Regions from separate parts of the Homo sapiens genome. Here regions 1, 2, 3, 4, 6 and 7 are each linked to region 5. Evidence: promoter capture Hi-C in 16 types of primary human blood cells and fetal thymus (Javierre and others, 2016). All regions are on one chromosome and are shown on one strand. The core of a region is centred on a gene start or on the middle of the fragment in contact, and the rest is flanking DNA. Distances in the headings are between cores, read along the strand shown.

Evidence for each region. Contacts are between HindIII fragments. The CHiCAGO score rates a contact against its expected background, and 5 or more counts as called.
Region 1: a contact is called between a fragment that was not itself captured here and the fragment with the promoter of TMEM218 in region 5, in 1 of 17 cell types (total CD8 T cells). The highest score is 6.3, in total CD8 T cells.
Region 2: a contact is called between a fragment that was not itself captured here and the fragment with the promoter of TMEM218 in region 5, in 1 of 17 cell types (monocytes). The highest score is 6.1, in monocytes.
Region 3: a contact is called between the fragment with the promoter of NRGN here and the fragment with the promoter of TMEM218 in region 5, in 1 of 17 cell types (total CD8 T cells). The highest score is 5.7, in total CD8 T cells.
Region 4: a contact is called between a fragment that was not itself captured here and the fragment with the promoter of TMEM218 in region 5, in 3 of 17 cell types (naive CD4 T cells, fetal thymus and total CD8 T cells). The highest score is 6.2, in naive CD4 T cells.
Region 6: a contact is called between a fragment that was not itself captured here and the fragment with the promoter of TMEM218 in region 5, in 1 of 17 cell types (neutrophils). The highest score is 5.4, in neutrophils.
Region 7: the fragment with the promoter of SIAE here is called in contact with the fragment with the promoter of TMEM218 in region 5 in 10 of 17 cell types (non-activated CD4 T cells, naive CD8 T cells, naive CD4 T cells and 7 more); the score reaches 9.9 in non-activated CD4 T cells.

Annotation. Positions count from the first base shown.
Region 1 is chr11:124,645,576-124,649,106 of GRCh38, forward strand. It overlaps SIAE (sialic acid acetylesterase), which reads right to left. Exons shown (of 10, transcript NM_170601.5): 6 at 2,491-2,600; 7 at 1,790-1,923. Among named protein-coding and RNA genes, the nearest start is that of TBRG1, 24 kb to the left of the region's middle. The HindIII fragment of the contact is 2,085 bases long and covers 1,218-3,302 here.
Region 2 is chr11:125,513,440-125,517,138 of GRCh38, forward strand. No RefSeq gene overlaps it. Among named protein-coding and RNA genes, the nearest start is that of FEZ1, 19 kb to the left of the region's middle. The HindIII fragment of the contact is 1,532 bases long and covers 570-2,101 here.
Region 3 is chr11:124,737,764-124,741,346 of GRCh38, forward strand. NRGN (neurogranin) reads left to right here and starts at 2,179. Exons shown (of 4, transcript NM_006176.3): 1 at 2,179-2,336. The coding sequence starts at 2,322. RefSeq lists silencers at 1,878-1,937, 1,998-2,317. The HindIII fragment of the contact is 6,441 bases long and covers 1-3,583 here.
Region 4 is chr11:124,795,127-124,798,601 of GRCh38, forward strand. All of the region lies in intron 1 of MSANTD2 (Myb/SANT DNA binding domain containing 2), which reads right to left. Among named protein-coding and RNA genes, the nearest start is that of MSANTD2, 3.5 kb to the right of the region's middle. The HindIII fragment of the contact is 2,862 bases long and covers 504-3,365 here.
Region 5 is chr11:125,109,995-125,113,636 of GRCh38, forward strand. It overlaps TMEM218 (transmembrane protein 218), which reads right to left and starts at 1,632. Exons shown (of 5, transcript NM_001258244.2): 1 at 1,545-1,632. It also overlaps the pseudogene KRT18P59. RefSeq lists enhancers at 1,327-1,416, 1,772-2,684, 2,047-2,226 and a silencer at 1,887-1,956. The HindIII fragment of the contact is 1,270 bases long and covers 1,189-2,458 here.
Region 6 is chr11:125,595,759-125,599,538 of GRCh38, forward strand. STT3A (STT3 oligosaccharyltransferase complex catalytic subunit A) reads left to right here. Exons shown (of 18, transcript NM_152713.5): 2 at 123-245; 3 at 1,301-1,361. The coding sequence starts at 158. Among named protein-coding and RNA genes, the nearest start is that of STT3A, 4.8 kb to the left of the region's middle. The HindIII fragment of the contact is 4,469 bases long and covers 213-3,780 here.
Region 7 is chr11:124,672,098-124,675,614 of GRCh38, forward strand. It overlaps SIAE (sialic acid acetylesterase), which reads right to left and starts at 1,642. Exons shown (of 10, transcript NM_170601.5): 1 at 1,545-1,642. The coding sequence starts at 1,611. SPA17 (sperm autoantigenic protein 17) reads left to right here and starts at 1,807. Exons shown (of 5, transcript NM_017425.4): 1 at 1,807-1,855; 2 at 3,141-3,321. The coding sequence starts at 3,168. LOC124902780 (a long non-coding RNA gene) reads left to right here and starts at 3,328. Exons shown (of 2, transcript XR_007062933.1): 1 at 3,328-3,465. RefSeq lists silencers at 1,578-1,697, 1,670-1,828 and an enhancer at 1,738-1,917. The HindIII fragment of the contact is 8,074 bases long and covers 1-3,324 here.

The DNA.
Region 1 (3,531 bases), core at 1,010-3,509, 460 kb before region 5:
CAAGCGTGAGCCACCAAGCCCGGCCTGATTGCTATATTTCTAGCACCTCACAAGATTCACAGCATATAATAAGCATTCAACACATACTTTTGGTTTGAGTTGGCTAAAGTCATACTCAAATCACCATGTGCACAGGCCAAGGGAGAAAAAAGTACTTCCAAAGCCCAAGTGTAGTTTCCACCAACAGGGATGCAGAACTGGTGACAGGAGCTGCTACTTTGAAAATAATGAGCAGAATAATCTTATTTCAAAGTCAGAACAAATGCAGGAAAGAAGAAAGAAAATAATCATAAAGGCATTTTAAGTGAGAAGGTCTATACAAATATTCAAAAGAAGGTACAGTGAAAAGGACAAGGTAGGGGAGTGGGGAGGATGGTGAGAAGTCATCTGTGGGGCGTGCGGAGGTGGTGTCTGGGACCATGGATGTCCCATTTACACAGGAAAGCCTACTCTGTTGTCATGTTTTAAGATGGGCATTGTTTTTATATCACCTTACTTGTTTGATTTCTTATGTTCTAGAAAAACCAGCACTACCACCGTGCTAAAAAGTGTAGTTCATATGAACATGTGGAGGCTAGGCAATTATGAACTTGGTCAAATATGTTTATTCTTTTTATGCAAGGCTGAAAGCAGAATCTTTCTGACTAGTTATCTCTAATTAAATGTATGGTTTCTCTTGCTATCTTTTTTCATTCACATGTTAAGCCACTATTTAACGAGTGCCAATCAACTACATACGTACTAGGGATGTTAAGTGTGACCCAGGAAAATGTAGTCATGTAGGCAACCTCATGCAAATAAAAAGGGGAAGTAGAGAGAAAGGGGGCATCTAACTAATCTGGATAGTCACAGAAGGCTTCCTAACTAATATGTAGGCTGTCTGGGACCTAAAGGATGATTAAAGTTAACTAGGAAAGTATGGAAGGCAAGGAGCAAGTGCAATGGCCAGGGAGTGAGAGAGCACGGTGGATTCCAGGGAGTGGAAGGGATAACACCAAGTTGGGGAGGGGGTGGGGAAATGGACATTCTCACAGACAGTTGTTAAGAGCATAAATTTATACAAATTCATGAATTTCTTCAGAGAAATCTGGGGACATGTTCAAAGCCTTACAAAGGTGTACCTTTTGAACCAGAAATTTCATTTCTGGGAATTTACCTTAGGGAAATAATCAAGCATATATGCAGTGATTTAGCAACAAGGAAAATAAACATGCCAAAGCTTATTAAAGCAAAACGTTTAAAACAACCGAAATGCCCAATCTATAGACAGCTAGTTAAATAAACTACAATGTAACCATATTTCAGGCTCTACAATCATTACAAACTGCATTGAAGATTAATATTTATTGACATGAAAAATCGTTTACTACTTATCTCTAATTGAAATATTACTTTTAGAGAAAAATGCAAGATATAGTACAGATCTATTTCAAAAATAAATGAGCAGAAGACAGCTGCTTATTTTTGGATTGGAAAATTATCAACTTTTTTAGCTTCTTTTTTGCTTATCTTTTTAATATTTCCTCAATGAAACTGTAATGCTTTTTAAATAAGAAATATTAGTTACTTATCAACTTTTTTTGAAGATTTAATTGTCCTATCAGTGAACTGAGATGAAGTAAGCCTTACATTCAGTTCTTGACCAGCACATTATGAGGACAAAAAAGGAAGATGAAATCCAGGAAAGAGATCCAAATAGCACATCCCCACACCAATGCCCATAAACCTCTTCCTCTCAACACAGGAACAGGTGTTGACATGAACAGAGAAGCCTTTACCCACATCGTACCTGGACAAGTCCAAATGGGAAGAAACGCTCCGTCTGCCCCTGGGAACCACGGTGGAAGGTTTCACGCCAGTCTTCGATGAGTGCAGGGAATGTGCAATTGTACAGATCCGTGTTATAATTTATATTGGACTCCCCTAAAAACAGTCCAAATTGTAAAGGGAGTTTGGAGTAGACTGCAAAAATGACCACACATTACTCTCCTCCCTCCATCCATGCCCTGAGGTAGTGGTCTTCCCACGGTCTCTCTGGACTGGTCTTTTTCCAGCCAGTGGGGCATCAGCAAATGTGGTACGAACAGAGGCTTGAAAAGTACTTCAGGTTTGGGCTCTGTCCTCTCCTGATGACCCTGGAATCCTGAGACTATTATATAAATAATAAATGAGTCTATACTGGCTTGCTGAAGGATAAGAGGTCACCTCAGAACCATGTTGCAACAGCCCCCAGACAATACATCTAGGGAGAGACCATCCTAGGTCATCCAGCCACCAGACAATCTGCCAGGTGGCCAAAGACACATAAGAGGTCCCAGCAGGAATTAGCTGAAGCAGCCCAGACATAAAAACTACCCTGCTCACCCACAGAACAGTGAGCTGAATAAAATTATAAAGTTATTGTTGCTTTAAGCCACTACGTTCTAGGGTGCTGTGTTATACAGCAAACGCTATCTGATACAATGGAGAAAGAGTACACTGAACACTTACCCTGGTACCATACTACCCCTTTCAGAGTCATATTGCACAGTGGATGGATCATGGCATTCCAGAGAACAGAGTGCTTACTGGGACCAGTTACAGAATCGTATGGAATGGACCTGAAATCATATGATGCACAAGTGTCACCAGAGAGCCAGTGATTGATCACATAAGGGTCCCTAATTGGTCATCTATCCACTTTCACTTGTGGTAAACTTCTGATGAAAGCAACACAGAATTAAAATTGAATCGAAACTCTTTTTCTTGAAAACATATGAATATTCTCTGAATTTCACCTCCAGGTTATTCCCAAAATAAGTGTATCGGTCAGCTTTCTATGGTAATTAAAGGTAATTTCTAAGGTAATTAAAGCCACAGGGAAGGAGTGCTTTATTGTTGAGTTTCTCACATTGTGGGGGGGGGCCAATAAATTTACCTAACTTTTATTAAATAAACCTTTATTTAATGCACAGACATTTAGGTTGTTTTAAACTTTTTGCTTTTATATGGAATGCCAAGATCATCTTCCTTATAGCTAAGTCATTGCATACATGCTTAACTATATCCATAAGATAAATTCCCAGAAATGAAACTGCTGTGTCAAAGGGCATCTTTTTTAAGGCTCTGAACACGTTCTCAAATTTCTCTGTAGAATATTTATATGAATTTATCCTGTAGCTGCTGCGTGTGAGAAGCCCACTTGCCCACACCCTCGGGATTATCCCTTCCACCCCCAGAGATCTGGTCTAACGCTCACTCCTACTCTACTGCAGGCCATTCTTCCTGTTCCAAAGTTGAATATCTTCACTCCCCCACAGGCAAGCTTTTACCCAAACTATACCCAGAGCTCAAGCCCATCCTCCTCCCACAGGGCTTCCCAGCGTGAATGAGACATGGTCCATGAAAGCAAGTCACATACTGCTCATCTCTACATTGATGTTAGTATCGGGATTTGTATTCACTAGCCCTTTCCCTCCCCAAGTATTCTTCCTGATCCAGCCTTTCCTAAGCAGGTGTTCATAATCAGTATACTGATACATTTCTTTGAGT
Region 2 (3,699 bases), core at 86-2,585, 400 kb after region 5:
TGGGTGCAATTACAGCTCACTGTACTCACTGCAGCCTTGATCTCCCTGGTTCAAGTGATCCTCCTACCTCAGCCACCTGAGTAGCTGGAACTACAGGGGCATGCCACCACACCCAGCTAAGTTTTGCATTTTTGGTAGAGATAGGGTTTTGCCACATTGGCCAGGCTGATCTGGAACTACTGGGCTCAAGCCATCCTCCCACCTCAGCTTCCCAAAGTGCTAGGATTACAGGTGTGAGCCACTGTGCCAAGCTAATTTTTTCTGTAGCTCACAATGCTATTTAAGCTTCAACCATCTGGCCCTCCTTTGTGTCTCATATTTTGTGGAACTCCTATACATATGCATGTAATAAATTTGTATGCCTTTTCTCCTGTTAATCTGTCTACTGTCAAGTTTATTCCAGAGATTATCGAGCCTTTAAAGGGTGGAAGGAGAGTTCCTTTCACTCCTACAAACCCAAATGTCCATCAAGGGATAAATGGATAAACAAATTGTGGTATATCCATGCAATGAAATGTCATTCAGCCATAAAAAGAACAAAATACTGATACAATGCTACAACACAGATAAGCTTGAAAGCATTATGTTGAGTGAAAGACAGCAGACACAGAAAGGCACATGGTACGTAATTTCATGTACATGAAATGTCTACATAGTGTCAATTGAAGAAAATGATGAGACAAGTCTCAATCATTTTAGATTTATTTGCCAAAGTTAAGGACGCATCCTGGAGACAGGTCTATGCCTTTCTCTGAAGATGATTTTGAGGCTCCAAATTTAAGGGGGAAAGGGTGGGATATTGAGAAGCACACAGTTTTCACATAAGCAAAAGGGGCAAAGGAAAAATGTGGGGAATCTGCATTTTACATAAGATAACACAGACAAAATGGAGTAGGGGAAAAATCAGATATTCATTTGTGTCTGGCAGGCCTGCACCTGTAAAGATGACCTAACAATTTGCATTGCCATAGTGACGTTTTAACAGCTCACTGGGAATTTCCCCATATTTTGCCCACAAGGAAATTCCTGGTGAGCTGCTAAAACATCACTGTGGCATGCAAATTGATAGGTTATCTTTACAGGTACAGGCCTGCCAGACACAAATGCATATCTGATTTTTGACTTTTCCCTTTGGCTAAATGACTCTGGGGTCCCAAAATGTAATTTCTTTTCACAATAGAAACATAAAGTAGATTGGTGGTTGCCAGGGGCTGTGGAGAGTGACTGCTAACGGATGTGTGGTTTCTTTAGTTTGGCAGGGTGTGTGTGTGGCGGGGGGTGGGATGATGAAAATGCACTAAAATTAAATTGTGGTAGATAGTAAAAGGAAGTAGTTATGTGATTGTTGCACAACTCTGTGACTATACTAAAAGCCACTGAATTGTGTAGTTTAAAAGGGTGGCTGGTTGGGCGTGGTGGCTCACGCCTGTAATCTCAGCACTTTGGGAGGCCGAGGCAGGCGGATCACCTGAGGTCGGGAGTTCAAGACCAGCCTGACCAACACGGAGAAACTCTGTCTCTACTAAAAATACAAAATTAGCCAAATGGGGTGGCACATGCCTGTAATCCCAGCTATTTGGGAGGATGAGACAGGAGAATCACTTGAACCTGGGAGGCGGAGGTTGCAGTGAGCCAAGATTGCGCCATTGCACTCCAGCCTGGGCAACAAGAGCAAAACTCCATCTCAAAAAAAAAAAAAAAAAAAGTGTGGCTGGATGCTGTGGCTCATGCTTATAATCCCAGCACTTTGGAATGCCAAAGCAGGAAGATTGCTTAAATCCTGGAGTTCAAGACCAGACTGGCCAACATAGCAAGACCCCATCTCTACAAACAAGTTTTTTTTTAATTAGCTGGGTAGGGTGGCACACACCTGTGGCCCCAGCTACTTGGGAGACTAAGAAGGCAGGAGGATCACTTGACCCTAAGGGGTAGAGGCTGCAGTGAGTTGTGATCACACCACTGCACTCTAGCCTGCACAGCAGAACAAGACCCTGTCTCTAAATAATAAATGAAAAGGTAAATTTTATGGTATGTGATTATATCTCAGTAAAAGTGTGATTTTTTAAAAAGTCAATGAATCTTAAACAAATAAGCAAACAAAAGCTTAGTCAGGTCTCAGGTGATGCTACACTACTACCCAAACAGATTCATTTCTAAAAAGCAAGCAGCGTAACAAGAGCAGCCATTTATGTGCTTACTATGTAAGGAGCTTTACCTAACAATACTGTTTGTTAAACTTTTCATCTCATTTTATTTGCACAATGACCTTATAAAGTATGTATGATTACCCTTTGTTTAGGAAAATGAGAAAACAGGCTCTCAGGGATGGGATAATTTGTTCAAGGCTCACACAGCTAAGAAGGGGTAAGGCAGGAGTTCTAACCCAGAGAGCCATCTGACTCCAAAGTTCAGGATAGCCACGTTCCCACTATGTTCATCAAAAAAAACAAGAATGAGCCAGGCGCTGTGGCTCACGCCTGTAATCCCAGCACTTTGGGAGGCCGAGGCGAGCAGATTATCTGAGGTCAGGAGTTCGAGACCAGCCTGGCCACCATGGTGAAACCCTGTCTCTACTAAAAATACAAAAATTAGCTGGGTGTGGCAGCGGGCGCCTGTAATCCCAGCTACTCGGAGGCTGAGGCAGGAGAATCACTTGAACCTGGGAGGCAGAGGATGCAGTGAGCCGAGACTGCACCACTGCACTCCAGCCTGGGTGACAGAGCGAGACTCCAGTGCAAAAAAAAAAAAATGCTGAGAAGGATTTTAGCTGAGTCTAAAACAAGTACTGGCAGGGCTCTGCTAACCACGCTGCTGCTCACTCCTTCTTCTGCAATAGTTATTTTTCCCTAATGGGTTTTTGTCTGTGTTGGAAGGAAGTCTTTTCTTCCACCAACTATGTTGTAGTGTGTGTTTGGGGCTTGGGGGACTGCAAATTAATTGATGATAGACAGATCCACAGAAGAAAAGACAAGGATTATTTACACATGCATGGGGGAGTACTCAGTAAAGGGTAATCCCTGGCAAAAATAGCCAGGGGTACGTGTGACTGCATCAGTTTAACAAAAGGGAATGGTGGTTAAGGCTTCATTGGGAATGTATGGAAGATTCTATTGGGCTTTTTTATTCTGATGCTAATGTACAGTCTTCTTTCTGGCTGGAAGCTGAATTAGACCAAATCTGGGGATTCTCCCAAACCTGAAGGGGGGTTAATGGCAGTCGTATTTTGGGAGGCTCTGCTTTAGTCAGATCAGGGAAGTCCAGATATGATTTCTATCTGCATCTGCTGTAGCTCAAATGGTTTCAGTTTAAAATAAACTTTTTATCTTTCTGAGGGTTTCTTGGTCCCTTCATTTGTTTGTTTCTGCTTTTACTATATTCCCAGACATTCTCAACATTATTGCAAAGATTTTTTTTTTCTTGCTTTAGGTGCTGCTTGGAAATGTCCTTGTCCCTAGATATCTTTAATAAAAGGTTCTTGGGCTCCAGAGCCCGAAAAAGCTCTGGGTGGTATTTTGCCTGCAACCAAAGCTTGACGTCAAAATTTGCACACGTGTTGTAGGATCATTTACTCTGTGTCTCCAGCCCCTACTCTTTTCTTGGTGTTCCTGAGTTATACTTCAGAACAGAAAAATATCAATAGGTTTAGATCTTAGTTCCACATTTGGCTCCCAGCCCTGCTCTAAGGCCCACCTCAGCTGA
Region 3 (3,583 bases), core at 929-3,428, 370 kb before region 5:
TCTGTCTTCTCATCTCAGGCTCTGCCTTCCTCTCTGTCTTTTCCTCACCTCAGAGCCTGCCCATCCCCCAGGGCCAGCACTGTGGCCAGTTCTGCGTAGGCGCCTTGAGTGGGCTGTTGCTGAAATGGTTGCTTTGCGGATGGAACTGACAGTTGCCGTATCTGTTCTCCTATGGGCCCTCCAGTGTTCAGAGACACCCTCACCCCACACAAAGGTGTCCTTCAGGAAGAGGGAAGGGCTGTGCTGCCTGTGTGGGAGTTGGTGGGGGGGGTGTTGTAAAGATACCCCCCCTTCAGTTCTGACCAGCAGGAAGAAGGGCCCAGAGGCAGCGCAGTCTGCAGAGGGATGTTGCCTAGCAACTTGGGAGACTTGACTGCAAACTCACCAAATCCCGAATTCCTCAGCTCTAATTTGGGAAGAGAAAAGCACAGAGTCTAGGCCTGGTATCCACTCTGTCCCCCAATTTCCCCCTTTCCTCTCCTCTCTGGATTCTGGAGTTGAAGTCCAGCAGGAATTGGCACAACAGAAGGCCACAGATGTGCGTGTCATTTAGGCAAGGGCCTGAGTTCCCAGGACATCTGGCCACTTGGAGGAGGTGGGGAGATGAAAGATGTGCCAGAGACAGATTGGGGAACAGATTTTTTTTTACAAAAGTGGGTGGGTCCCAAACATGCTGGGAGAGACACCCCTACACCCCAAGCCCTGGAATCCCGGCCAGCATCCAGCTCAGCCTGGGACCCCAAGCTGGCTAACCTTATCCCCACCCTGAATGGACTCAGGCATTTCTCTCCCACTCATTTTTCCTTTGGCAAGCAGAGCCTCGGGCCCAAACATCTAGGTGGAAAGGAAGCATGTCACCGCCACGTGGTCCCTGGTCATGGCCAGGGACTGGGGATGCACAGCAGAGCTGTCTCAGGATCTGCTGTCCCAACCAGAGCCACAGGGCATTTCCCACCTTTGCTCCCAGCAGGAGCCATCCTTTCCTCCTTCCCTTCTCTGGGACCTTAGCTGAGAAGACTTTCTAGTTTTCTCAGAGAAGGCCTACCCTACCCACATAACAAGCCACACTGCCAGCTTTTGTACCCTGCCGAGTTGGGGGAGGCTGACGACCACAACAGTGGCAGTCTGTCCCTCCCAGATGCTCTTTCCATAGCTCCCCTTCCCAGCCTCTCACGAAGCCCACATCCTGCCTCATCATGGACCCAAGAGCCAATTACTTCGAATTCTCTACACTTGGGTTTAGGGTATTTTTCTTCTTCTCAGGAGCAAGGGCGAGGATGGCCAGCTTTTGTCTTATTCTGAGGCAGCAGATCAAAAGGTTAGGCAGAGTCTGGTATGAAAGGGAGGAGGATACTTCTTCCAAGTCTGTGCCCATATATAAATACATACAAAATAGGTGTTGTGCATATATGATGTTGTTTGTTGCAGCTCATGTAGACAGATCGATAATAGATACGTCATGCCGACAGCTTGAGTTGGGTGACTGTCCGTGTGCGTGCGTGAGCGCGCGGGCGCCCGCAACAGGGTGTCCGCATTTACCTGCAACTGAAGGGCTGCGTAGTTATTTTTGCAGGTTGTATCTGCAGTGTCTGTATGCTGGAAGAAGGCCTGGGAAAATCATATGTGGACATGTGGGGCTTGTGAGCTTTTGTGTGGACGCATGCCCATCGCCAGGTTGTACCAACAGGTTTCTCCGTCTGTAGCAGGAGTGATGATGAGACCTTTTTACCGCCCGTTAGGGAGCCTTTCTTTGCGGACTGAGGGGGAGTGAAGTGAAAGGGAGCCATATTTGGGACTCCTGCTAGGTTGTGGAAGTATGGAGGGATGGGTGAGGGGTGCGTGGTTTTCTCTGAGCGGGAGTAGGTGCTGTGCCCAGATGTGGGTGTTTGTGCTCGGGGTGTCGGGGGCCTCCTTCTGCCTACTCCGGCGTACATCTGCCTGGCAGTCTGCCGCCTAGCAAGCCAGGGGATTGCGCCCGGGAGGATGGAGTGTGTAGGAGGCTTGGATACAAGCGTGTAGGCGGAGGGGCTGGGGCAGGAGCGGGAGCGCGGCGCAGAGAGCCGCGAGAGGGCGTGGCCCTCCCTCCACTTCTCCCCGCCCACCCTGCCGGAGGCTGCTCCTGATTGGCTTCCCGGCCGCGGGGCTCAGGTTACATTCGCGAGCGGAGCCGAGCGCGGGAGACCGGACCCGAGAGCAGAGCTGCTGTTTCGGCGCGGGTCGGCTGGCGGCCGACTGCCCCAGAGCCCCCACCCGGCACCACACAGACCCCACCCCCGCCCTGCGCCAGCCTTCGTCCCCGCAGAGGACCCCCCGACACCAGCATGGACTGCTGCACCGTAAGTTAGAGGGCCCGGGGGAGGGGCACTTGGCGGGGTCCGCTGCGAGAGGCGCCTGAGAAAGCCCTGGAGGGCGAGAGAGGGATGGAAGTGGATGCGGAAGACCTAGGAGCAGAAAGAAAAGGGGTCCTTGCCGAGACGTGGGTGGTGGATGGTGGAAGGCGCCCGCCCGACTTGGAAGCCCTAGGAAAAATGCTCCTCAACTCGCGGGGGCGTCTGAGCGCCCATCCGTTAGACAGCCTAGGCTGGACTGGGAGCTCGGCAGGGCTCTGCAAGAGGGGAACTGCGGGTTGGATGACAGGAGGAACTTCCTCCCCAGTGAGACGCTGGCAACCATCGCCTGGAGACACTGCAGCGACTCCTTCCTCCCGTCTTTCGGCCCCCACCCCGTTCCCCATCCCACTGCGCCGCCGTCGGTGGGCGGACAGGCTGATCCTCATGACCCTCCAACGATCGCCTAAGCGCCCTGTGCAGCGCAGGCTGGTCCATATTGGTTAGCTCGGTAGTGATGCTGGCTGCAAAGAGCCTAGTCAGGGTGGTTCTGGGGAGGGGTTGTCCCGGCCCCCAAGGCCTTCTCGCTCGGAAGGGGCTGGGTGAAGTGACCGCGAGAGAGCCCTGCTGGCGAGGAAAGGAAGTGTCTGCAATTTGTCAGCGCCCACGCGGAAACCTGGGTACTGCAAGTGCCCAGCGCCCGAGGGGTTTGCTGTAAAGGTGACTCGGTATGAAAGCGCCTGGCATAGGCCCTGGCTCCTGCCTCACTGGAAGAGTACAGTGATCATACGTATATGAAATTTATTTGTTTGCTTATTTATTTTTTGCCTCTGCACTTGGAGAAAGACTATTCCAAAGTCCTTGTATTTTCAGTCATTCAGTCAACCAGCTAATGATACACGAGGTTACTGACTTTGCCACCTTATGGCATAGTAAAGAAAAAAAAAGTGGGCTTTGGAAGGGAAGGATAGCCCAGTTCTATAATAGGTGAGACTTTCCCATGTCTGGGTACCAAGAGGCAGAGAACACTTAGGGGCAAGTGGTGGTGGTTGCGATTTTAACTCTTATTAGTTTAAGTAATAGTTGCCAGTTTGTGAATGCCTGCCCTGTAGCCAGCACTTTATATTTAATCATAGCAACAACCCTGTGAAGTAGGTATTATTTCACAGATGTGCCAACTGAGGTTTAGAAAGTTAGATTTTTCCAAGGAAGCATGACTCCTAACTGTGGAGGCAGGATTCAAACATAGCCCTGTC
Region 4 (3,475 bases), core at 685-3,184, 310 kb before region 5:
CCTCAGCCTCCCAAAGTATTGCGATTACAGGCATGAACCACCATGCCCGGCCTCTTTTACCATTTTTAAATTTGTCTGATGAGCGACCAGCACTGATTCAGAAAAGGCAAGTCTTTTAGGTCACATTCAATCACCTTGCATTTCATCTTGAGGCACAGCTAGAAGTACACATCTGTTTCAAAGACATAAAGCCAACTCTCAAGAGGCAAATTTTTGGAGAACACCCAAAAATATGGGACTTGAGAATGAGTTTTGCAGTGCATCAGATTAACTGACTGAAGTGTGAATGCAGCATCTGGCTCAGAGTGAATGCTTTCATGAATTCCAAGTCTAGATAGGTCTTTCAACTACTACAGTATGGCCAGCGATGAGACTGGTCACTCCTTTGAAGTCATCACACTTATAGTCTGCTTTAGGCAAATAACACTAAATCAAGTACCGCCTTGCATTCCATCCCTTGTGTTGTCTTGACCAGCTTTTTAACTCATTGATGTATGTACACAAGCTTCAATTGGATTTTATGCTCTTGGACTACAGGAGTGTATATTATACTTTTATTTTTATTTTTATTTTTAAAACTACAGTTCTTTTATTCATCCTAACACCTAGCAGACAGCCCTCCACATAGTAAGCACTTAAGTATTTGGTGACTGGAGATATGAAAAGGCCTACAGTAAAAGAGAAAAATCATGCAATCACTAGATAAAAAACTACCTAGATTTGTGTATCTGACTCCAAAATTGGGCTGGAATTGTTAGTAGACAAATTTTCTTCTGGCAAACAAACAAAAATGCAACAAAACTTCAAGATAAACAATCTATGTAGTAAGGCAGTGTCAAACACATCCGTTTTACCCAAACGACAGAACAAATACCAATAAGATGACAGACATCAAAATCAAACTTTGCAGCAATAAACAAATTTTCATATCTGACTGTAAATTAAAATCTTGTGTGCTTAGAAACATGTTCATTTAGACAGTATTAAAAAGTAGGATGTTAGTCTCAAAATCCAAGAGTTAAATTATTAATTCAATTTCAATACTTATAATTTTAGTATTTTTACTGTATAGATAAGAGGACCAAGGCACAGTCCAAAGAAGGTAAGTGACATGCTTTAAGGTGATTCAGGAAGGTGGTCAGAAAAGGGTGCAATAAGGCTCAGCTTTCTGATCCTTTATACAATGTGAGGAAGGCTGCTAATCAGAAATTATCTGACTAAAGGAAGGTTTGCATGGAAAAATTAAAGTTGCTATATAGCTCTTCCTTTTAAAGTTAGAAGAAATTATTTACTGGGTTTTCATAGTTGAATTCTTTTTTTTTAAGAGACCAGGTCTCACTATGTTGCCCAAGCTGGAGTACAGTGGCTATTTACAGGTGCTATGATCATGGCACACTGCAGCCTCAAATTCATGAGCTCAAGCGATCCTCCCACCTCACCCTCTAAAGTAGCTGGGACAACAGGGAAGCGCTACTGTACCCGGCTCATAATTGAATTTTTGACAGGAATTTCAAATATATTAGCCCAGAAATGTAATTGACTCACACATATTCCTTCTCTGTGAGCCTCTGACATTGAGTTCACATGTACTTTAGTCTGCGTAAGAAGTTCCTCCTTTTCCTTTTCCACATCTTACTACTTTGCTTCTATTTTGTAAAATCTAAAGCAAAAAGTATTACTAAGTTTCTTTTTGTAGTTCTCATCAACACAAAGTGAAAGAGATTTTTGAACTACTTGTTTTAAATCTGCATTTCTGAAACTGGGATCTAATGACTTCTTTTCAGAGGTTTGAGATTCTCTGAGATTTTAAGATAGCAGTTTTATTTTCATAAGCATAATCTGAGTTACTTGAACATCCACTTCATAATTGTGTAGGAATATGATTTCAGTGACCACATTTGCTTCTGTGCTGAAGATTACATTCACACTAAATCTCCTTAAATGCAGTATTCTTCAGACTGGGTTCCAAAGTCTGTTTTTTCGTTAAACAGCAGTATTATTGAATAATACTGCTGCAGATTTTTATATTTTCCAATATTCTCTTTCTAGACTTTATTTGGTGAATTAATTAAATAAGGCCGGATGTGGTGGCTCTCGCCTATAATCCCAGCACTTTGGGAGGCCAAGGCAGGCGGATCGCTTGATTCTAGGAGTTTGAGACCAGTCTAGGCAACACAGTGAGACCCTGCTTCTAAAAAAACAAAAATACAAAATTTAAAAATTAGCTGGGCGTGGTAGTAAATGCCTGTAGTCCTAGCTACTCAGGAAGCTGAGGTGGGAGCATCACTTAGGTCCAGGAGTTCAAGGCTGCAGTGAGCTATGATCACGTTACTGCACTCCAGCTTAGGCAACAGAGCAAAACCCTGCCTCCATTAAAAATAAACATAAAACAAATTAAAAAAAATGTAGTGTCTACTATATGCTAGTACAGCAGTGAGTAAGAGAGACCAGAACCTGTCCTTAGAGAGCTTATCATTCTGGCAGGAACACTCAACATTACTAATGAAAAAGTCTGGGTTCTTTGATTGAAATCACATAAAGAGTAGAGCACTTTAAAACACAAAACAGTTATCTGCCCTCCTTGTTAACAGCTACTATGGATCAGAGAACCCATACTCATCAGCACATTCCCAAAATACCCTAAGAGCTTGAGGTCAACTTGGTTTTACCTGTCTGGACACAGGTAAACCAATCCTCTTCTAAAAATTATTCAAATAAATCTCCTTTTCTTGCTTTAAGTTATCCTTCTCATAACTGGACAATGAAACAACCCAATTAGATACTCCCTGGTTGAGAAACAATTTTATGGAGAGATTTATATTCAGTGAGGTTTTGACAACACACTTTTTCTGCGTGATTGGGAAGTTTCTACAGACAGAAATCAATCAAGCTGAAACAGTTTAAAATGCCTAAAATGCACTTCTAAACTCAAGAAGAGGTCATGGATAGACGCTAGCCAAGACAGTACAAAAAGTCTCCCAAAAATTTAACCTTGGCTGGGCACGGTGGCTCACGCCTGTAATCCTAGTGCTTTGGGAGACTGAGGCAGGACAGCTTGAGACCAGGGAGCTAAAACCAGCCTGAGCAACGTAGAAGACCCTGTCTCTTAAAAAAAAAAAAAAAAAAAAAAAAAATTTAATGAGCCAGGTGTGGTGGGGCATGCCTGCAGTCCTAGCTACTGGGGAGGATTGTTTGAGCCCAGGAGTTCTTCAGGTTGGGCAAGAGAGGGAGATCCTCTCTCTAAATATAAATAAATAAAAATTAAAATTTAACCTTAATGACGTTGAATAGAACAAATGAGATTCAGAGAAGAGTAGCTTTGTCCTATTAGCTACTACTTTAATGTCTTTGTTAAAAAAAGAGAAAGCTTAAGAAGTCCCAAAGATAAATGTTATCAAATACACTAATTTAAATTTGTAATGGAGTAATTAATGGGTGGCAAATTCCTTGAACAATAGTAGGTTTTAAATATCTT
Region 5 (3,642 bases), core at 382-2,881:
TTTTAAGAATGGAGCTCATAATTTTATAAGCAAACTATACATTTTCTTACTAAGCATAGAAAAGAAGGGCTGGGTATAGTATAGAGTGCTGCTATAGAGGAAGAGAGAACATCTAGTCATTTTTATCTTATTTAAATGTGAGAATAATATCTGTGATAATTTCCCATATTAGAATAGCTAAATTATTGTTATTGAGTACAATACAATAAAATATAAAAACGGGTTCATGCCATCATTAAACCTTCTTTGAGAAGTGATGGCTTGGCCAACCCGATTTCAAGGGTAAGTCCATTTACTTAATATCTGTGGCATTTAAAGCAGGTAGACTGGAGTGAAAAAAAATAATTTAAATTTGAACAGTTCAGCAGCTGACAACAAAAGCAACTACAGGGCTAATGTTTTCCTTCTGTGCTCAATGCTGTGAGGTTTTTCTCTGAGAGAGTTTGTTCAAAACCTTTTAGATGTGTGTGTTCATTTAATGGTTGTTTCTACATACCCTTTCATCCAGCTGTCAGAGAAAATAGGAATAAATGGACTGATCCCTGCACAGGTAACCTAATGGATTAAAAATACGGTACTCATCACCAGGTTGATCATCATGAGCGAGAATACTAACTGCCATTATAAGATGACTTATAAGATGACTTACTATCTAAGACAAATGTGGATTCCTCAGAGGGTAATGTGGCCTAAGTGCTGCTGCTGGAGGGAGATATCTCACCCATCCCCCGATTTTCACACTGACTCAAGCCCTTGAAAGCAACAGAAAACAGTGGGTTACAAGGAGTGAAGTGCTCCTCTGGAAGAGTCCTTTTCACTTTGCTTTATAGCTGTTTTCCAAACCTTCAAAAATAACGGGGGGGGGGGGTTACTTTCACACTTTTATGTTTCTACTTTAAACACTTCACTATCTTTTGAATTTTAAAATATTAGAATAACGCCTCTACCTTTGTAATTAGATAAAATGCAAGCCTGGGGAAAAAATCAGTTGCCAAGCTCCCAAAATGCCACCGATGTAGCATCTGCTCTTAACACGTTGATAGAAAAAGGAGGATCAGTAAACCTAGGTCTCTTCCTTGCATCCCTCTCCTGGACGGTGTTGTGGGTTGGAAGCGCTGCAGAGCCTCGGTCTATCCGCTCTCTGGATCTCACAGCACTGCAGCCTGGGAACACCCCACTTGAACTCTAAGCTTCTCCCCAACCCTGTTGCAGATTCAAACTGGCGACAGGAAAACAATGCCCCCCATGTCTCGTCTTCAGAATGTGCACCTGGCCACCTCCCAGGAGCTAGAGAGGGATTAAGGTCTCGGTCATAAGAGATCTGAATCAGGCACTGACACTTCCTTTTCTTAAGAGCATGAAACAAAACAGTCCTTCCTTCTCTGCCTCCAATTAAGTATTTATTAGCCGGGCCTTGGGTCCAGATCAGCGGTAAGGGTGGTCTGCGAGGTCCGTGCACCGCCGTCCGCCCACGCCTTCTTCCAACCACCTCAGCCCGACCCTCCACTTTTCTCCCTTCCCCGCAGCCGCCCCGCTTTCCTCACCTCTGCCCCCTTCACCTGGATCCACTCTCCCCCAGGCTCTACTCACACCTCAGATTCCGGCGCGTTCCAGCCCACGGGGCTCTGGTTTACTTAGGGCGAATCACAAGTGGGCTTTCATTTAGGTGATTTAAGATTCACTAATCAGCGTTGCTCTTTCAACGGCCAACTTCTTCCTCATTAGCTTACGCCTAGCGCGGCTCCCGGCAACGCCGAGCGCGGTGGGTTGGCTCGTCACCCTTCGTTACGCCCTCCGATTGGTCGGTGCCTGTCAGCCTTTGGACCGACCTCAGTTCGGTTGGGTAGCAGCGGTCCGAGCTGCACTCCCCGCCCCCCCGCCACTCCACTGTCAATCACACCATCTCTCCGTAACTCATTGGGCCATTGGTCAGTCTAGCCTGAGGGCGGGTTGTTGGGCGGAAGAGAGAGACTTCTTCCGGCCTCACTCGCTGTCACCATAGAGATTGCCCATCCAGGCAGCGAAGCAGCAGGGCCAGGCAGCTCAGATCTCGAACTCCAGAGAACTGCACAGTCATCTAGACATCAATGCCTTTTCCGGGGCCTGATGAACATCTCAATCCCCAACCCACTAGCTCGAGTGGGGCGCAAGATGTGGTGGACAAGTCAGCTCAGGCCCGGTCATTAAGTGTCCCCAACAACCCTCCTGGAGGGAACTGAGGACGAAGCACCAGTTGTAATAACGGCACGCTTCATTTATCTTTATCTCGACTTGTTTTATTTGGTATTTAATTCTTCCATTAGCCTTGCGAAACAGACAAAGGCAAAGATCATTCTACCCACGGGACAGACTGGGGAAGAGGCCCAGGGTCCATCAAGTAAACCCTCTGCCGCCAGGCTGCTGGAACTGGAGCTGGCCCACGCTATTGGCAGACTGCTGTTACCTAACTGCCAACTAAAGCTTGCCATGACTTTGCTTTGAGGCTATGGCCTGTTAGACCAAAAGATGCATCAATCAGGACAACCAAAGGAAGTAGGACAGAGGCTGCGTGCTCCACCACTGAATCAAGAAGGGGAAACAAACAATAATCAATACCAAATTGGAGAGCTGCACCGTTTGAACCTTTGACCTTAAACAAAATTTTAAGAAATATCATGAAGCAACCTATTCAATCTTAGAGCACTGAATCTCTGATTTAAGGAATTCTCCTGAATCACAGCTTTATGAACCAAAAAGAAGAAGATGCTTGAATTTCATCAACTGCACGTCTCAAATTTATTCAACTTTCGAGGCTTCATTTACAATCACATAAAGTAACCAATGATTTGTTGTGCGTTTAGCAACTTAACATTACTTGGCCCAGTGAGAAGCTCTGTGGCTAAGAAATCCTTTATTTTGATGAATTCATTTCACTGGAACTGAGTGTTGACTGCAGCTATGTTCTGTTAGGAACTGCGAAGATATACAAGAAATGAGATGTGACTCCCATCTTAATAGCCCGTGGTTTTGTAATGTTAGGTCAACAACACATGAAACAAGTAGGAAACACTTTAAAGCAAGATATAACAATGGGCCAACCCTATTGTACAATTAATTTCTCCAAAATATAATAATACTTCATATTTGCAGAACATTTCGTAGTTTCCAGAGCACTTCTTCCCTTGTATTATTTGGGGGATATTTTGTTATGGCTGGAATTAATGTGTGTGTCTTTATCATAGAGCTAGAACTAATGCTGGGTCCTAGCATATGAGTAGGAACAGGAAAGGTGGAACAGAATCCAGGAGGAGAAAGTAGTTTGAGCAAAGAGGCCAAGGCAAGAATGAGCACTGAGTATCTGGAGAATAATATGGAGACAAATGATGGAAAGTAATGTGTAGACAAGCTGGTCAGAACTGGCTCTGAGACCTTAATATTTTGGAGGAAAGTGGTCAAAAGTTCAAAGTTTGAGATTGGAAAAGTTAACTTCCTTACACTTCTAATGATCATACTGGCTTCAGTTAAGCTATAAATTAAAAATGGGCATGGCTCAACAGAACTTGAGTCCTGTCCTCTCGCTTTTCTCCTTAGGCAGCATGAGCTTCACCATTTGCTTTACCACCTCCACCAACTACCAGTCCCTGCATTCCATCCAGCCACACA
Region 6 (3,780 bases), core at 1,197-3,696, 490 kb after region 5:
TGACCCTGTCTGGTGTTTTTGCTAGCTCCTACGTCCTTTATGATTCCCTCTCATCATAAAATATGAAAATTAAGTAAATTGAAGGTGTTCAATATCTTGTGGTCTTGACTTTTTCATTTTAGCTGATCGTCGTGTGTTGCCACCCATTCATGTCAAGATGACTAAGTTTGGATTTTTGCGATTGTCCTATGAGAAGCAGGACACACTTTTGAAGCTTCTCATTCTGTCAATGGCTGCTGTATTATGTGAGTGTGCATGTGAACCTCTCTTTCTTTGGGGATAGAAAGAAGAAAGTCTAGAAAAAAATTGAAAATCGCTATCTTAAAATGCCTTGTTCTTTTTAGCAGATTGTTACATTTTTCCATTCCTCATTAGTATAATTTTATGAAGGCAAAATAAAAGGAATATAAAAGTCAGGGCTATGGGCCACATGCAGTGGTTCACGCCTGTAATCCCAGCACTTTGGGAGGCTGGGGTGGGTGGATCACTTGAGGCTGGGAGTTTGAGACCAGCCTGGCCAACATGATGAAACCCTGTCTCTACTAAAAATACAAAAACTAGTTGAGTGTGGTGGTGGATGCCTGTATTCCCAGCTACTTGGGAGGCTGAGGCACGAGAATCGCTCGAACCTGGGAGGCAGAGGTTGCAGTAAGCCGAGATTGCACCACTGCACTCTAGCCTGGGCAACAGAGCAAGACTCTGTCTCAAAAAAAAGAGGGCTGTGATCATCTTTGAAAGAATGGGAAGCATGCTGTGCCAATTCTGTTTTCTCATAGGGTTGAAAGTGATATTGGGGACCCTTGGATAACTGATTTTTGTAAAAGACAATTATCTTCAATTTAGATGTCTCCTATAGTATTTTTGAAAGTCTCTTGAGAGTTTACTCTGTATTTTAGATTTTCTGGCTCTTCATGAGTCCTAGGTGTAATTTTGCTTGCCATACCTATTACTTTGCTCCAAGGTTAAGGTTAGTTATGTGTGTATGGTGGGGGAGTCAGCGTATATAAAAGATGACCATGTAAGTTGAGTTTGGTATTAGTAGGTGAATGTAATGTTATAGGCTTTTATAATTAGTTAACTGTGACCTATGAAAGTGGAAAATGTAGATGCCATTGTCAGGGGAAAGTAAACTTCTCTTGTTTCCTTTATGTGGGGAAAGATGGATAAAGACTTTATTCAGGGATTATTTTATATTTTCTGTGACCTCTCTACTGGATAATACTGTCTTCATTATAATACTATATCTGCTGTTCTTTCATGGCACATTACCAATAAAATATTAACTCTCTGGTTTTTGCAGCCTTCTCCACTCGTCTGTTTGCTGTCCTGAGATTTGAAAGTGTTATCCATGAGTTTGATCCGTGAGTACCTTTGCTTGATCTGGTATTATTTCCTTTGGGAGGCATTCAGGTTCATGGGTTTCAGATTCAAATTTCAGTCAGCTCTCAGTGATAGAGATGTGCTTTCAGTACATTTAAGGGAAAAAAAAACCCTTAAATTCTTCCAAAGGAGATAATTATCTCCTTTTAAGACGTATGTGTTGGAGTCCAGCACAGTGGCTCACACCTGTAATCCCAGCACTTTGGGAGGCTGAGGTGGAGGGATCACTTGAGCTCAGGAGTTCAAGACCAGCCTGGGCAACATGGTGAAACCCCATCTCTACAAAAAAAAAAAAAAAAGTATGTGTTGGAATTGACCAAGTAAGTCTCTGAAACTCAAAAAATGTGAGAGGCATTGCTAGTATGTCTGCCTATCACTTAAGATCTGGCTAGGCTAAGAGAATTCTGGCTGCCCAGTTTGGTAAAAGTTTGTGATGCAGATTGAAGGAAAGGGTCCTGGTGTGTATTCCAGGCTCAGAAGAGAATCACAAACAATGGACTTGAGATTCATGACATTTTGCTGTTTGTTTGTTTGTTTAGCAATTTATGTGATAGAAATTGGGCTTCTTAGTTAAATTCTAGGGCAATGAAAAAACTCAAAGTTATCAGTTTGATAAGGAATTTTGTTCATTAGATGAAAAAGATATAGTGGAATTCCTTAGTGGTATTAATAACTAGTATTTACTAAGCATTCATTTTGTTCCAAGCACTAATTTACAGATTATCTCTAAATCCTTTCAGCAACCCTTTGAGATGTAGGTACTATTATTCCCTTCTTAGAAATGAGGAGACTCCACTGGGCACGGTGGCTCACGCCTGTAATCCCAGCACTGGGGGAGGCCAAGGCGGGCAGATCACAAGGTCAGGAGTTCGAGACCAGCCTGGCCAACATAGTAAAACCCCATCTCTACTAAAAATACAAAAATTAGCTGGGCATGGTGGCATGTGCCCGTAATCCCAGCTACTCTAGAGACTGAGGCAGGAGAATCGCTTGAACGCAGGAGGTGGAGGTTGCAGTGAGCCAAGATCATGCCACTGCACTCCTGCCTGGGCTACAGAGCAAGGCTCCATCTCAAAAAAAAAAGAAAAAGAAAAAAGAAATGAGGAGACTCAGGCTGGGAGTGGTTATCTAAGGTTGATTATTCAGTACGTGGAGGAACCGTGATTTGAATGTTGGTTTGTCTGACTCCAGAGACTGTAGTCACTGTGTTATATTGCCTAAAGTTAAGGCTTATAACAAATTTGGAGGGCCAAAATCATAGGTTCTTGAAATATTATTGGTATCTTAAAAATAGTATATTCAATCTTGTGGAGTATTGATTGAAAATGCCTGCATCTATTTGCAAATTTATAATTTTGTTTTGTGTAGATATTTGAAAGCATTTTGGAGGCATTACAAATAATTCTGTTTGGGGCCTCCCAAATTCAGTTTATATTTTTTCTCATGAATGAGGAGACATGTCCTTTTGTTTTTTCTTTTTTTGTTTGAGATTGGGTCTGACTGTCACCCAAGCTGAAGTGCAGTGGAGTGATCACGGCTTACTGCAGCCTTGACTTGTGGGGCCTAAGTGATCCCCCCACCTCAGTTTCCCAAGTAGCTGGGACCACAGGCATGTGCCACCATACCTAGCTAATTTTTTAAAAATTTTTTGTAGAGATGGAGTCTCACTATGTTGCCCAGGCTGGTCTCAAACTCCTGGGCTCAAGCAATCCTCCCTCCTCAGCCTCCCAAAGTACTGGCATTACAGGTATGGGCTTCCATGCCCAGCCTACTTTTGTTTCTTGATCCCAATCTGTTAGGCTTCTTTCTCAGACCCTCTGAATGAGCAAATATTGATGTTAGATAATCAAGGAATGCAAGAGCATCTGCTTTGTCGTCAAGAGCTGTTAGGGACCATAAGGGACTTGACACTTCCTTTTGCAGAGGAGGAAACTGATTCCCAGAGTGGTGAATGCAGTCCAGACCTATTCCTACTAACTTATACTTCCTCTCTCACTCTGCCTCTCCTACTGGTAGCTAAAGGACACAATTCTGACACATACTGATGTCTGCAACCCTCATCTCTTCTGTTTCTGACAGTCACCAAAATAACATCAGTGACAAACAGAAGGATAGAGATTTCTGCCATCTGTTGCTTCTGTTTACTTCAGCTTTCAAAACTTGACTGACCAAGGAGGAAATAGGGTTAGAGAGGTGGGCAGAGAGGACGGTTAGTCATGATTATCCATAGTAATTAAACTGTCTCTAGTTTGAGACTCTTTGTTTATTTTTGTCTGTCTTCCTTTTTTTTGGAAACAGGGTCTTGCTGTGTCACCCAGGCTGAAGTTCAGTGGCTCAGTTATGGCTCATGCAGCCTCAACTTCCTGGGCTCAAGTGATCCTCCCACCTCAGCCTCCCGAG
Region 7 (3,517 bases), core at 392-2,891, 440 kb before region 5:
AGACGGGGTTTCGCCATGTTGGCCAGGCTGGTCTTGAACTCCTGACTCTAAGTGATCCGCCCACCTCAGCCTCCCAAAGTGCTGGGATTAAAGGTGTGAGCCAACATTTGGATTTTTTAGGTCTTCAGTTTTTTCCTTCATTTGGGGCTGGAGTAGAAAAACAGGAATTAGTGTTATGGGGAAGAGAGGGCAGTGGTTGCCTCTGGTGAGGAGCTCCGGATGCATTGGCGAGGAGCACAATGGCAGGCTCAATAGACTGGCAATGTTCTAGTTCTTAAGTTGGGTACTGCTCTCATGGGTGTTCATTTTATTGTGTCATTGTTACATATAATTTTGTACATCTCAAGCATTACATGGTAAACATGGGCACAGGGAGAATGACTTAAAGGAAAAACGTCAGGATACGCAACCAAGTAGAGTACTAATGAATGAAAAATGTGATCAATGTTAATGAAGGTGATGTAACAATAAGACCCAAAGGAGGAGATAAAATACTGACACTAAAATAAACAGCCTTTAACTGAAAACCTAATAAAATATCTTTTCCCCACCTCATAAGATGGATCTCAAAGGTCACTGAGTGGAGATAAGAGTCAGGAAATGGCATACAGAGTGCTAGCATTTTGCACTTTTGTTAGACTCTGAACAATCATTTATGGGCTGCAGTTTGTCTGAATCTAGGTACTTTTCCGGCTCTCAGGTAGAGCAGGAGTCATTTTTCTGCACGCTGTTCTCCTACCCCAACTATCATTTCTTAACAGGGATCTCTGGGGTCCACTCTTTGAGTGTTTTGAAACAGAAAGGAAGAAATCCAACATTATCACTTTAGTTTGCATTATCAGACAGATTGCACCTTCTGCTTTCTCCATACTGTGACCCAGTGTCCAGCCTAGGGTATTCGAATGGCAAGATCTGACCTGCGCAACAGCCAAAGGGAGCCACCAGCCTCCCCTATGCCACTCACATTTTCCCACCACCAATATCTGTAAGCGGTACCAGAAATCAAAACTGAGCCTTAAATAGTCAGAGCTAGTGAGGGGGTTGTATTTCTTAGCCCTGATAACCACTTAAACGAGTAAAATTTAATTCCCCTAAGGAACCCCGCCTGAAGCAAACCCTCCCCAAGGGCACCACTGAGGGGGTAGCGCTGAAATGTTTTGGAAGATTCAGTCACCTGTTTCCAAATATTACCTAACTAGCTTCGCCTCCTTCCCTCCGAGCTCCCCTGCAGTTACTCCAGGACCCCGAAGGCCTCTTTCTGGGCACATTTGGGCCTCCCCACTCAGACAAGCCGCACTTTCTCCCTGCTCACAGGCTGCATGTCAGGGATGGTAAGTGGGGGGTGGAGAAAGTGGAGAGGCCGGGGTTCAACCCAGCAGACTCCTGCAGACCGGGCCTCGGTCGGAGACGCGAGCCCCTAGCCTAGCTAGGTTCCTTCGTCGACCTTGAGAAAGGGGCGCGGATCCGTGTCCCGCAGAGGACACGGGGTCTCGGAGCCCGCACAGGCTGAGGGGCAGGGGTCCGGCCGAGCCGGGCCGCCTCACCTGCACTTCTGTCGGCCCACAGGATTAATGGCAGCACCAGCCCGAGTACAAGCCCCGGCGCGACCATGCTTGCAAGGATCTGACCGCCGCCTAGGACTGGGAAAGTGGGTTCCCGGCAGGGGCGGGGCCTGGGCGGGGGCGAGGCCGACTCCACCCTTTTGCAGTCCTCGCAGCCTCCCGCGACCTCAGGACTGGGCTGTACTCGCCCCTTCTCGGCCGCCGTAGTTTTTTTTTTTTTTTAAAGAAAAAACGGTTACCCAGCAACTAGAAAAACAACCGGAACCGGCGGCACCAGCTCGGAGAGAAAGGAGGTGAGGCCGCTTCCCCACTTCCTCTCCGATACCAAGACCTAGCCTTTTCCCTTCGTCTCTCTTATTCTCTCAGCATCCCAGACACAGCCTCGGAGCCCTGGGCCGTTTGGGAGCCGAGGCAGCCCATTCTGCGCGAGTCTGAAATCCCAGGTCCTCAACATCCCGCCCCCGACTAGACCCGTCTGCCCCCTCCGCCCGCCCTCCTCTGCCCACATTGGTTCAGAATCTCGCCAGCTCTTTTCACCACTCTAGAATGGTTCGATACCCCCATCTACTGCTCCCTCAGAAAAAGCAAAAGAGAGGAGTCAGGCGTGGTGGCGCGCGCCTGTAATCCCAATTGCTCGGGAGGCTGAGGCGGGATCATCGCTGGAGCCCAGGAGTTCGAGGCCAGAGACCCCCTCTCAAAGAAAAAAAAAGCGATGAAACGAGAACCCTCCATAGTCTGAGCCTCATTAAACCGTCCAGTTCTCCCAACCTGGACCCCTACCACGGCCTCCGCCTCTATTCCGCATTGACGCACACTCTCACATTAACAGGCCAGGTCCCGGAGGATTCTTTTCATACTCAGTAGTAGCTCAGCCCGCTGCTTAGCAGCTACCCTTAATCTAGCCCTTGTATTTCAAGACAGAAAGAGACAACCTGATCAAGAAGAAACCGAAAAATATAAGAATTCTAAAACTTTAGAGGCTGGGATTTCAAAATCATGACACACAGCCCCATCCCATCCCATCCCTCCCTCACACACACGCACGCACAACCCCATTCCACAGTACGAAGGTGTTCGAAGCATTGTGGGTCATGCTTCAGAAGTGGCAGCAAGGGGAAAGATTGTGCAACTTCTTCATTCAACAAATTAATTTCTAGAACCAGGACTAATTTCTACTCTTTAAAAAAAAATAGACCTCAAAGAAGGTCTTCTCAGCAATTGACAATGAATTTAACTTTTTAGCAATCATTCTCTCTAAATTCCTGTGTGATAGCAAAAATTACCCTTACCTTTTGAGCATATAAAGGGTAAAGAGAGAAAAAGTCATATTGAAAATTATGGGTTTTTTGCAGGATTTTAAATGATTTGGCCTAGTGAATGGGTCTGTGTTTGTATTATACTAATTCACAATGGAGATTTCAAAACTCTTTGGAAGAAATGGATGGGCTTGGGTTGTGTTAGGGAAAAAAGAATTCAAGTCCAGATGTATGAGTCTCAGAAATAATTTGTTGGCATAGTTGTGATTATATAAGTAAAATCAGACAAATTTAAAGACAGTACTCTTTAATGAATCTTTAGGTTCCATAGGCAGTTCTTACCAAGAAGATGTCGATTCCATTCTCCAACACCCACTACCGAATTCCACAAGGATTTGGGAATCTTCTTGAAGGGCTGACACGCGAGATTCTGAGAGAGCAACCGGACAATATACCAGCTTTTGCAGCAGCCTATTTTGAGAGCCTTCTAGAGAAAAGAGAGAGTAAGCTTTCTAAAATTAGTCATTTTTTAAAATAAGAAACTAAGCATTTGTTTATGGTAAAACTTGCTTAAGACCATCTCCATTCTGCAGAAAGCCTTTTATGAGGCAGGGAGTTTCAGATAACAGTTCTTGCTCTTTGAAACAGTATGTACCTCTTTGATATGTTCTCTTAAATTCGTTTCATATTATCGAAGAT